Linked DNA regions of Homo sapiens: region 1 is linked to region 2. The links are contacts of gene promoters, found by promoter capture Hi-C in blood cells and fetal thymus (Javierre and others, 2016). All regions are on one chromosome and are shown on one strand. Each heading gives the region's core, a stretch centred on a gene start or on the middle of the fragment in contact. The rest is flanking DNA. Distances are from core to core; before and after follow the strand shown.

Region 1 (6,571 bases), core at 3,982-6,481, 3.2 Mb after region 2:
TTTAAAAAGAGATCTATACTAATACAATTATACCTACTGTTAATAGAGTTAGTGGGTCCACAGTTAGTGGGTCAGGTAGGTGACAGATTAGAAGTGAGCATTACAAATAGAGGAATGCATCTTTCTTAGGTACTGACCTAAGTAGACCTTCTTTCTTAACCCCCAAACAAAGACACAGTACTGGTCACATTAATGCCAGTGTAGGCTCTGATAATGACATTGACACTTCTCTCCAGTCCATGTTTCTTCCCTTCCCCTTCCTTCTCCTCTTCTCTTTTTCTCTTCTCTTCTCTCTTTTCTTTCTTTTTTTGAGACAGGTCTCACTCTGTTGTCCAGGCTGAAGTGTAGTGGTGCAGTCATGGCTCAGTGCAGCCTCATCTTCCTGGGCTCAAGTGATCTTGCCACTTCAGCCTTCTGAGAAGCTGGGACTATGGGCATGTGCCACCGCGCCTGGCTAACTTTTAAATTTTTTGTAGAGATAGGGTCTTGCTATGTTGCCAGGGTCAGTCTCAGACTCCTGGGTTCCAGTGATCCTCCCACCCTGGCCTCCCAAAGTGCTGGGATTATAGGAATGAGCCACTGTGTCCAACCCATGTTTCTTCTCAGCCTACTTCCACACCAGTGCAGTGCCTTCCAATCTGTAATTCCTGAGAGTATTGCAAGAGAATGAAAAGGGCTTAGTGAAAGTGATTGCTCTGCTTAAACTGCATACATCTCTTCTTCCTGTTTCTCATCATACTGCCCTTTAATGCTACTTTTTCTTTCCACTAATGATTTTCCCTTTGTCCTTGCCCATTTCTCTCTGTCAGACAACTCATTTCCCTTTTGTCCTCTCTGATAGTAGAAAATTTGACTCTGTGTATGTATGTTTCCTAGAAGAAAGCAGAACCATGAGTAAACACCCAGTGAATAATTTGGGATGCTGATGAAATCAAGGAAGACTGGAAAAGCAACTTGTTGGGTGTGCTGTGGAGAGATTTCCTATAGTGGGCAGAAGGTTAGATAAAAGATTCTCTGAGGTGTCTTCTATCTCTGGGAATTTATGCTAGAAATGTCAACTTAATTAAGTTGCAGTGCCTGTCAACAATCCAAGGGCAAAAGTTTGCTCCAGATCTATAATCTAGCCTCATCATCTTAGGGGGAATGTGACCAAATATAGTATAACACTATCAGTATGAAAAGAATGAAATCCACACAGCCTGCATAATTATAGGTGCAGAGAAGAAGAAATTGATGACACAATATTAAGGTTTATTTTTGCCACCTAAAAACATGTCAACATCCTATTATCTTATTATCTCAGATTTTTATTCAATTCTATGACAGCTAAAAGTAACCATTATATCTGTCAATTAAAAGAAGAGAAACTGCTTATTGAAATTTTATAATTTGATCTATGACATGGAGTTGAACTGGAAGCACCTGCCAGTCTTCCTGATGTTCCAGATAGTATTTTGCTGCAAATTAATTAATCTAACTACATCTTGATTTTCTCACACTGCATTAGAAAGTATGTGCTCTTGGTCATAAACCGTGATGAAACTATAAGAACCATGTAATGAAACCTTATGGTTTGAGTTGTCTGGCTTGTCATAGAGATGAATATAGTGTAATTAAGCCACACTCTCTCCTTGCAGTAATGAAGGCACTGTTTGGGGGACTATGCCAGGGATAGGAGAATAAGTTGTCTATGGCACTCGAACGGTCTACACTATCCAAGTAAGGTAACCAGCTAAGGCACTTTCAAAGTAAAACCAAACAGAAAGTCACGGCAGATAATGCCACTTTCATCACTGGTAATTACTGGCCTTAGAGTTGTAATGAATGGCTGCTACAGAATAAAAGGTAGGTGGCAATTTATGCAACAGATCATTGTTCATCATCAGCAGTATGGGTGGCACTAAGCAACAGGCAGAATTATTTTTAAACCCGCGAGGTAAAGTAGATTAAAGGTATTATTAATAGGCTAGGCCTAAAGGAACAGTGTCTTAATTATGGACTCTTTTTCCTATCCTTTCTTAAAGATATTATATTTCTACAACTGATGAAGGACTAGATTAGGCTTAGGCTAGCAGTAGAGGGAACACTCATTGCTGCATTAAGATCAAAGAACCTTCCGAAATTTTGGTTGCTCCAAGTACCAGAATCAGCTGTCATTCTGTTGGAAGCAATAGGGAAAGGGTAGCTCACAACATTTTTTTAAAAAAGTATTTCTCAATCAGTCCACCATTTACTGGACTAGGCTACAGTGAACTGCATAATTTTATGGAATCTCGTTTTTCAGGGTATCTTGTTAACCAATGGGCTGACATTCTCTTTGCAGGAGCTCCACCAAGTGGTCATCCAGCTTGTGGGCGAAAGTCAGAAAAACAAATTAGGAATCCTAAGAAAGACTGACTGATAGCCGAGTAGAGCAGTCTGAAGGTAGATAAACGTGAACCCTCCATCCATAGGGAGATTCAGATACAGGCTTCATGTTTAGACAAGACATCTGCTTTTCCTCACCATTTGTTTTTGGTAACTTTCTGGTCCTTATATGAACTATGCCTGCCCTTTGACCTCATGACCCCATATGCTTTGAGCCCTCCATTTTCTCCTAATCAATTAGTCTCCTTCTGTCTTCCCATTTTCCCTGTTCAGCTCCACACACTGGTGTCCACTACTTAAATTATGCTTTCAATATTACTTTCAACTCTTAATCCAGCCATCCTGTTTCTCTGACTCTGGAACTGAGCAGCTGAGAGTTCTTGGAGAAAAATCACACAGCCATACCAATTGATGTCACTGTATGTTGTTGCTTTCTGACCAAGGCTGAGTCCTCAGTTATGGTGAAGGTGCTTCTGATCAACTGACAGTGGGTATTCCAAACATTTACTTCCCTTACTGTCAAAACCACCAACTCTTCTTACACTCAGCAAATGATGATTCTGTCCTTTTCATTGTGAAAAGGCAAGGGCAGAAAGTGAAAACGGCACCTTCCTCTCCCTCTTACTTATTCGCTTATTTATTGGCATTTTTACTTCTCCTTCCTGTTGGAAAAGGTGCCCATCTAACTCGAGGCTCATTTCTCAACCTGTAGATTGGATTCCATCCTCTTCTGTGTACTCAATGACTTTATTATATCAATCATCGCCCTCTTTCCTGTTTTACTTCAGAAAATAAACAGAACAGTGGTTTGTCTTATTGAAAATGAAAGCAAAAGTAAAATTACCTTGGCAGTTTTGGGTCTCTAATTATAAGCCAAAGAAACAAATTGAGAACAACTTATGGAAAAAATGATATTCATTGGAAATATACTGGTATAATGCAGAACAGAAGAAAATACTAAACAGTCAAGCTTCCTGAGGGCAGAAAGTACAGGACCACTGAAATGAAACCGTGGACATGCATAATCATGTATGTTTACTAAGGTTCAACTACCTTTCCTCCTTGTGTCACCACTTAAGATTTAGCTCCTAGGAAGGAAACATTTGATTGGCCAAGCCCACCAGAAACATGTGCAGAGGAGATGCTCCTGATACCTGCACCATTGAATTCCATAAGGCACAGTTCAGGGAACTTTGCTTTGTCCTTATTTTGTTTGATTTATCGGTAGCAGTTCTCCTTCTGGAGTCCTTCTCCTTTGTTTTCTGTGGCATTATTCTTTCCTTAAAAAGAAAAAAGATAATTCTTTTTAGTCTCCATTGTAGGTTCCCTTTTTTTCTGCTTAAACAGTAAGTGTTATCTTCCTCATGGGTTCAACTTCGATCACTGTTATATTACAAACTTCCTCCTGCCAAATCTTCGTTTTGAGTTTGCGATGGAACCTACGATTGAATTTCCAATAAAATTCAGTATATCTAAAAGTGAACTTATGTATTTCAAACCTGCGCTTTACTTGAATGCCACATTTTCATAAATGGCATATCTCTTATCCAGTCACCCAATCCACTTCCCTGGGAGTCTTCCTAGGTCACTCTCACTTATACTCAATCAATCCCTAATCCCTGTGGCTTTTAATTCCTTGGTATCTCTTGTTCTCCTCTTTCCTAAACTCATAACCACTTTTTAAATTAAGGTCTTAATGACTTCTCACCTAAATTGCTACATTAGCCTCCTCAAAAGGTTTCCTTACACATCATACTCCGTTTCTTACAGAGTGATCCTTCTAAAATGCTAATCTGCTCTGCAAACTCAGATTCAGTCCTTTATCTTTCAGGATAAACTTCAAGGCTTAACCCACACATTCTGTCTTTGGCCACTTTCCAAGCTTCAGGGATGGCTACTTCCTTACTGCTATATTGTAAAACAAGCAGGTTTCCAGTTGGAGGGACTAGAATTGTTTTTTAACCTTGACTGAATGTAAGAATTTCTGGGGACATATTAAACATGCAGATTCTTGGCCTGACCCTAAACATATTAAATTGGAATCTCCAGGAGTGGGGCTTATGTCTCTACTGATTTTTTTTTTTTTTTTTGAGACAGAGTTTTGCTCTTGTTGCCCAGGCTGGAGTGCAGGGGCGTGATCTCAGCTCACTGCAACCTCCACCTCCTGGGTTCAAGTGATTCTCCTGTCTCAGCCTCCTGAGTAGCTGGGATTACAAGTGCCCGCCACCACGCCCGGCTAATTTTTTGTATTTTTAGTAGAGACAGAGTTTCATCATGTTGGCCAGGCTGGTATCAAACTCCTGACCTCAGGTGATCCACCCGCCTCGGCCTCCCAAAGTGCAAGGATTACAGGCGTGAGCCACTGTGCCTGGCAGTCTCTACTGATTTTTATGATCAAGCCAGTTTGTGAATTAATGATTGACTGTTTCTAGGCAGTCCTTTTACTTATGCTGTTTGTTCTGCAATTCCCAATCCCCTTGTCCTTCAATAGTTTAGTTAGTGTCACTTTACAGGTGACTCTCATTCTTACTTAGAGGCCTCTTCTCTGTGTTCCTGTACCGCGTAGGACTATCTCTGTCTTAGTACCCATCACATAATATTTGACTAACTTACCTATCTTATAACTGCTCTAAAAACTTATCTTTGTTTTCCCAGTACATAAAAGACAAACAGTAGGCATTTGGCAAAAATTACTTTGATATGTAAAAACAAATAAAAAGCTCACTACACTTTTTGCTGTTATGGATTCTTTCTGTTGCTTTATCTCTAAGGAGTTACTCATAAGATGAATATTGTTCAATTACTTAAAAACACCATTATTACTATGATTCCTTTAAAATCATATTATAGAATAATATTTTTTGATATGTGAAAATATTATAATGTACTACTAAGGGAAAAATAGGCTAAAATTTATATAATATGACTTTTTTGGTAAAAATTTTAAAACAAATTAAGTTAAAAATGCATATATAAAAACATATTGAGAAGACATACATTGTAATTTTATTACTCTTTGATTATGAAATAATGGGTGATTTTGTATCTACTTTCTATCAGAAGTATGTACATCTAAAACTTTTTTTATTTGTATAAATTTAAGGGCACAAGTGCAGTTTTGTTACATGGATATTTTGGATAATGGTGAAGTCTGGGGCTTTTAGTGTGACCATCTTCTGAATAATGTACATCGCACCTATTAAGCCACTTTTCATCCCTCACTCCCCTCCCACCTTCCCATCCTTCTGAGTCTCCAGTGTCTCTTACTCCACACTCTATGTCCATGTGTACATGTTACATTGCTACCATTTGTAAGTGAGAACATGTAGTATTTGACTTTCTGTTTCTGAGTTATTTCACTTAATATAATGGCCTCCAGTTCTATCCATGCTACTGAAAAAGATGATTTCATTCTTTTTTATGGTTGACTAGTCATTCATTGTATGTACATATACCACAGTTTCTCTACTCATCCATTGACAGATACTTAGGTTGATTCTAAGTCTTTGTTACTGTGAACCATGCTGCAATAAACATGAGTACAGATATCTTTTCAAGATAAAGATTTCTTTTTCTTTGGGTAGATACCCGGTAGTGGGATTGCTGGATCAAATGGTAATTCAACTTTTAGTTCTTTGAGAAATTTCCATGCTATTTTCCAGAGAGGTTGTACTTATTTACACTCTCATCAACAGTGTATAAGCATTCCCTTTTCTCCACACCCTCACCCACATCTGTTGTTTTTTGACTTTTTATAATAGCCATCCTGGCTTGTGTAAGATGATATCTCATTGTAGTTTTAATTTGCATTTTTTTGATGATAAGTAATATTAAGCATTTTAACAATAAGCTTGTTGGCCATGTGTATATCTTTTGAGAAATGTCTGTTCATGTCCTTTGCCCACTTTTTAATGGGGTTGTTTTGTTATTGTTGTTGTTGAGCTGTTTGAGCTCCTTGTAAATTCTGGATATTAGCCCTCTTTCAGACATATAGTTTGCAAATATTTTCTCCTATCCTACAGGTTGTCTGTTCACTCTATTGATTGTTTCTTTTGCTGTGCAGAAGCCTTTGAGTTTAATTAAGTCCCATTTGTTTATTTTTGTTTTTGTTGCTTGCACTTTTGAGGTCTTAATCATGAATTCTTTGAGTAGACCAATGTCCAGAAGAGTTTTCCTTAGGTTTTCTTCCAGGATTTTTATAGTT
Region 2 (6,407 bases), core at 2,151-4,650:
CAAAACTTGAGGGAATGTGTTACCAATGGAATCACCTTGCAAGAAATGCCCAAAGAAGTTCTTCAGAGAGAAGGGAAATGATATAGTTCAGAAACTCAGATCTATGTAAAGAAAAGTGCATTAGAGGAGAAATAAATGAAGGCACTAATTTAGGAGCTGTGACTATAGCAAAACAAAAACAGGTTTTACCAAGTACATGGCTTGATTGAAGCCACTAACTTTCCATAATCATGTCCTGCTGATTACCTACTAGATACAGCTACTTTATAGAATAATTAAGACTGCAGGATCAGGCCGGGCGCCGTGGCTCACGCCTGTAATCCCAGCACTTTGGGAGGCTGAGGCGGGTGGATCACGAGGTCAGGAGATTGAGACCATCCTGGCTAACACAGTGAAAACCCGTCTCTACTAAACATACAAAAAATTAGCCAGGCATGGTGGCAGACGCCTGTAGTCCCAGCTACTCGAGAGGCTGAGACAGGAGAATAGCGTGAACCCGGGAGGTGGAGCTTGCAGTGAGCTGAGATTGCGCCATTGCACTCCAGCCTGGGCACAGAGGGAGACTCCGTCTCAAAAAAAAAAAAAAAAAAAAAAAAACCCTCGGGAGCTTTCAGACCCTTTGAATACAAACACTTCCCTGTTGGGGATCAAACATGCAGCTTTAAAAGGCTTGTTCTTCCCCTAGGAGGAATGCACTCAGAATTCAAGAATCTGTGAAAAACATTTTTCTAAAAATGAAAAACAGGCTTGTTGAGGTGGATCACATCTGTAATCCCAGCACTCTGGGAAGCTGAGGTGGGAGGATAGCTTGAGGCCAGGAGTTCAAGACCAGCCTGGGTAACATAACAAGACCCCCATCTGTACAAAAACTTAAAAAATTAGCTGGGTATGATGGCTCATGCCTGTAGTCCCAGCCACGGGAGGCTGAGGTGGGAGGGTCACTTAAGCCCAGGAGTTCGAGGCTGCAGTCAGCTATCATTGCACCACTGCACTCTAGCCTGGGTGACAGAGCAAGACTCTGTCTCTTAAAAAAAAAAAAAAAAAAAAAAACCTTAAAAGATTACTACAAGAAATATTGTTGTTCTACAAAGAAATGAAAAAGCAATTGTTGACCAGGTGTGGTAGCTCACACCTGCACTTTGGGAGGCTGAGGTGGGTGGATCACCTGAGGTCAGGAGTTCGAGACCAGGTTGGCCAGCATGGTGAAACCCCATCTCTAATAAAAATACAAAAATTAGCTAGGTGTGGTGGCAGGTGCCCGTAATTCCAGCTACTTGATTGCTTGAACCTGGGCGGTGGAGGTTGCAGTAAGCCAAAATCACACCACTGCACTCCAGCCTGGGCGACAAGAGCGAAATTCCATCTCAAAAAAAAAAAAAAAGCAATTGTTAAATGAACACATGAAGAGGTTTGCTTTACCTCCTGGAAAATAGATGCTGTTGGGCTGAGAACAATAATCCCAATTGTGTTGCACATTGGAATCCCCAAGGGATTTTTCCAAATAAAAATCCCAGGTGTGGTGGCTCACCCGTTTAATCCCAGCACTTTGGGAGGCCGAGGTAGGTGGATCGCCTGAGGTCAGGAGTTCGACACCAGCCTGGCCAACATGGTGAAACCCCGTCTCTACTAAAAATACAAAAATTAGCTGGGCATGGTGGTGGGCGCCTGTAATCCCAGCTACTTGGGAGGTTGAGGAGAACCCAGGAGGCAGAGGTTGCAGTGAGCCAAGATTGCACCATTGCACTCCAGCCTGGGTGACAAGAATGAAACTGTCTCAAAACAAACGAACAAACAAAACTAATGCTTGGCTCCCACCTCTGACATTGTGATTTAGTTATTGAGGGGCATAATTTGGGCATAAGGATTGTTTTAAAAGCTCTCTAGGTGATCCTAATGTGCAGCAAAGTTTGGGAACCAATGGCTAAAAGGTCCTCAGGGTGGCAGCCACAGTGGGGCCCGTAGTAGTGTTTGCACTGCCCTTTACACCTCTCAGGGCCTGGGCATCCTATGCAGCTGGTGGTCCCACTAGGCAGCAAGAGCTTCTCTCGTCATTGTGTATACTCCAGGACCTCAGCACACAGCAGTAGGATAACACACTAAGCCCCCTTTCTGCACCAAAATGCTGACTTCTTATTAGAGAGAAGGGGAGAGAAACAACCTCCAATGCTTTATACTCAGAACCCAGAGACAACCTTGTAAGTCAAACTAAAACTGAAATAGGATATGTGCTTGGCCTAACACTGTGCTGTAGAATTCGTGCATCGTAAAAGAGAACTTAGCTGAGCTGGTGGGACATTTCTCATCCCACCTCACAGCAGAACTGATACAGGTGATGTGGCTGGCATCCCTCCTGAAGCCCAGGACGCAAAGCCAAGGATGCTGAAGAGAGGGAAGTCTTTCGGATGGAGGAGAGCAATTTTTAGAGGGTCCCACAGTCTATTCGTAGCAAATGGGACTCTGAGGTCACCTAATCTGGTCTTGCAGCTGGGATCTTTGAGGACTACTGGGGTGGTGACTTGCCCAGGATCACACAGCCAGCCATTATAAGAGCCAGGCCAGAACTCCAGGCTATGATTCCCTACAATGTGGGGCCTGGAAACATCCATAATTAATTTAGAACAAGGGGCAGATAACGGTACATTAGATTTTTCCAGTGGGAGGAATTAGATAAGGAAGAATGAGCAAATTAGAAAAAGAAAGCCTAGAGAAAAGAATGAAGAACATGAATCTCATGTTAAATAACAAACACATCACACCCGGCCCTCCACCCCAGCTTCCACCTCCAGCCCTGCCAACTGAAAACTGTCATTTCCTGGCAGTGCTTAAAACAAAGACTCTAGATAATTCCCCAGGGACTCACCGGCAAGCTGCTGGTCCCACTTACCCTGCCGCACAGCAGACATCAGCTGTACTCCCTCTTCTGCCCCGTGAAGACCTTTGGCTGCAGTGCCGCCGCTCATTCAAGTGACCGAGATCCTCTCTAAGGCGCCCTCCCCCACACCCCCCGCCCCGCACAGCCCTCTGGACGCCTTGAAGTACGGAGCCGCAGCCTTATCCTAAAGAAAGGCACAGCTCTGACAAGAAAAGGCAATCCGGGAGCCTTTCCCTAGCCGTTTAAAATGAAACTCACCGTTCTTGCTCCCGTGAGCTGTTGCAAATAATCTTGAATCTCGTTAGTGTGGTTGGTGGCTGTGATATCGACAAATTCCAGAAGCCCTTGTTTGATGGGCAATTGACTGAGGATCTCTTGGGCCCTCCTGCAGTACGGGCAGGTGGGCTTGATGAACACAACCACCTTCCCAGGCTGGATTTTGCAGTTCACAAACTCTTGAGCCATGCCGATGGGCTGCGGTCTCCCCGGGAAGAATCCTCAGTTGCAGGTATTGCTTGGGGTATTGAGCCCCGACCCAGCCAGTTGGCTCCTATTTAATAAGGAACCTCCCTGGAGGCGGAGTTTGCCTGGTAGCTTGCTCGAGTTTTAAAGGGACAGCTTCGAAGACATTTCCATCTGGTATACTTCACTAGTTAGCAATGCCCAGGAATGCAATACTTGCTATTTAATCATTGGTAGCTATGAAAGACACTCTGGGTATCTTTGTTGTCCTTGGACATTTGGGGAGTGCCTGCCCATTGGCAATGATCAGAGTTTAGTCACCTCTGGGGAAGCATAAAGTGCTTACTCACAAAGGGGCTGAGGAGGCAGTGACTTCTTAGAGCAAATTCTTGTTTTCCCTCTAGGAGATACAGTTGTATTTTAAAATGCAAACAGAATCACTTAAGAAACAGAACACTTGGAAATCTCTTTAGAAGAAGTGAAATTGAAACTGTGACTTTGCACTCCTCATGAAGGTTGCTCTCACAGCATTTTGCTTGGACTGTATGGTGGGTGTTTGTTGTTGTGATCTTTTTAATGGAATTCATTCTCAGTATTTAAAAATCTGGAGGTCTCACAAAACAATTCGGACTTAAAACTTCTCTCTGAAAAGTCAGGTCGGGCAATACAGAGCTTGCACCTTTTAGTGGAAGCTGCTGGGGCTGACAGCTGTTGCCCCCTTTGTATAGGGCAAGTAGTGGCTTTGGTTTGCCACAGGTCCCAACGACAGGCCCATGCCTGAGACACCGGCTTCACCCCATAACCATTTGAGTTGGTAACCCTTGAACAGCAGTTTAATATGGAGGCAAATTCCAACACAATCCTTGATACAAAACTACAGATGAAATGAGAATCTTTTTTTCTGGTTGAGCCTATGTTTGTGACCCTCTGCTTTTAACTGTTTGTGAGGGGAAGTAGTGTTGTAACTCAGACACCACATTCACTTCAAGTGTTATAAGACACGGGTTGTAACAGTAGGAAATCTTTCGCTCTTCCCCAGGGTGCCCATTCTCCTTATCCCGCAAAGCAAAGTCCTCTACTCCTGGGTCTAGTTCCGGCCCCCTCTAGTGTATGGTAGCTTAAATAAACAAATCAAGGAAAAACTATGTCCTTTAAACGTGAATCATCCTTTCCCCAGGAAGTTTTATGGTGAAACCAGAGTATCTTCAAAGAGGCGGGGCCAAGGCCAGAGCTGGACACCACGACTGCCACGTAAGAGGAATCCCAAGCATACTGCGATCAAGGGAAGGGAAGAAAATCCACTCCCAGAAGCAGCTTTTTACTGTGACTCTCATCGTTACTAGAATTAAAATGGCAAAATGAGAAAGCCAGATTCTGAGTCACGGAGGGGGAGCTAAGTGACAGCTCTGTCCAGAGAAAAGGATGTGGCAGGGCTGGGAGGCCCCTCACGTGGTCAGGGCTCCGGACTTCCCACTTCCCACTTCCCTCCAAAGTAGGCTCTGCCACAGAGTCTGAGCCTCCTCTCTTTTTTCATTCTTTTACCTCAGAACCCTGTGGCCAGGCTCCTTCCAGAGGCCCCTGCCAGGAGGTCCAGGGTCTGTTTCAGGGCCCTCAGGCTGTTGCCTTAAGTTCCCTCAGCCTGAGGTTTATCCACACGACTTGCACCTGCTACTCACTCAGAGCCTTTCTCTTCTCCGGTCTGTTGTTGGCTCCTCCCTTCCTGGTGCCTCAGCCTGCCACTGTGTTCAAGTTAAAAGCCACCACCACCACCACCACTCCCCATTTCCTGCTTTCCTGCCTCTGCCCTTTCATGAAATTTACTGTCTGTACCTTTCTCACCTCCATTCTCTCATTTTGTTGTTATCTGACCTTGTCAACCATTCTGCTGAATTGTTGGCAGACACTAATCATGGCCTCTATGTCACCAAATGACCATTTAGCTAGGTATCCTGACCTTTTGCAAATTAGTCACCTGCCCCAAGAGGCTGGGATCCAGGGAGACTATTGTCTGCCTCTCACTCAGTCCCGGGGACTGCCTGGTGTCTGAAGCCTTAGGACAGATGGCCATAAGGCACAAGCTAAAGGCAATTTTTTTGTGAGGCACCATGTGGAAAATGGGAGACAAAGAGATGGCAAAGAACGGGTGTCCTCTCCATTTCTCAGAAAATGCTGTGGCTTCAACTCAGTGAAAAATGACAAGCATAGAAGCCTCTGCTGCATTGTACAGCAGGAGCTGAAACCCAGCATGGACCTTAGGGCATCTCAATGGAAAGCCGCCATGGGGACTGCAGATGCGTCAAGTGCTGTGGATGGAAAGAGGGTGTGCGTGTGGACTAACACGTGTGGACTCTCCTTTGGCTTGTGTGAGACACTCCCAGGCACTCTCAGAAAATACACCTTGGAGGGTGGGAAGTGAGGGCATTTTTTAGGGGAGAATCAGTCCTGCTTTACAGATGGTTGGCAACAAGCTAGTGAAATATGTGTGGTTACTCTTTTTTTTTTTTTTTTTTTTTTTGAGACGGAGTCTCACTCTGTTGCCCAGGCTGGAGTGCAGTGGCACGATCTCTGCTCACTGCAAGCTCCGCCTCCCGGGTTCACACCATTCTCCTGCCTCAGCCTCCTGAGTAGCTGAGACTACAGGCACCCGCCACCATACCCGGCTAATTTTTTGTATTTTTAGTAGAGACGGGGTTTCACCGTGTTAGCCAGGATGGTCTCGATCTCCTGACCTCGTGATCTGCCCACCTCAGCCTCCCAAAGTGCTGGGATTATAGGCGTGAGCCACCGTGCCCGGCCAATGTGACTTCATTTGTACTCACAGGCTGATGAGGGCTGCAAAAAATGTGGCCACAAACGAACATTCTTCAGGGTTTTTCCTTACCCACTGTGCAGGGTTTGACCTTGTAGATCACTGCAGGCCTCTGGAAGTTCTCTTCCCACTGCCCATTGCAGCATGATCTTTTTGCTCTTTCTATTGGATATTGTCTCAGTGTCTTTGTTAAGAATTTTGCCTACACATATGGTCTATCTTGGGGCTTGATCTTCTCATTGTGTACACACCCACTCCTTGAGA

The links. The method cuts DNA at HindIII sites, captures the fragments that hold promoters and counts their contacts. A CHiCAGO score of 5 or more calls a contact.
Region 1: a fragment that was not itself captured here is called in contact with the fragment with the promoter of GLRX in region 2 in 1 of 17 cell types (non-activated CD4 T cells); the score reaches 6.1 in non-activated CD4 T cells.

Annotation. Positions count from the first base shown.
Region 1 is chr5:99,030,334-99,036,904 of GRCh38, forward strand. No RefSeq gene overlaps it. Among named protein-coding and RNA genes, the nearest start is that of CHD1, 100 kb to the left of the region's middle. RefSeq lists an enhancer at 3,091-3,150. The HindIII fragment of the contact is 1,968 bases long and covers 4,248-6,215 here.
Region 2 is chr5:95,819,326-95,825,732 of GRCh38, forward strand. It overlaps GLRX (glutaredoxin), which reads right to left and starts at 3,401. Exons shown (of 3, transcript NM_001118890.2): 1 at 3,131-3,401. The coding sequence starts at 3,337. RefSeq lists enhancers at 1,773-1,912, 3,829-3,918, 4,149-4,649. The HindIII fragment of the contact is 7,969 bases long and covers 1-6,407 here.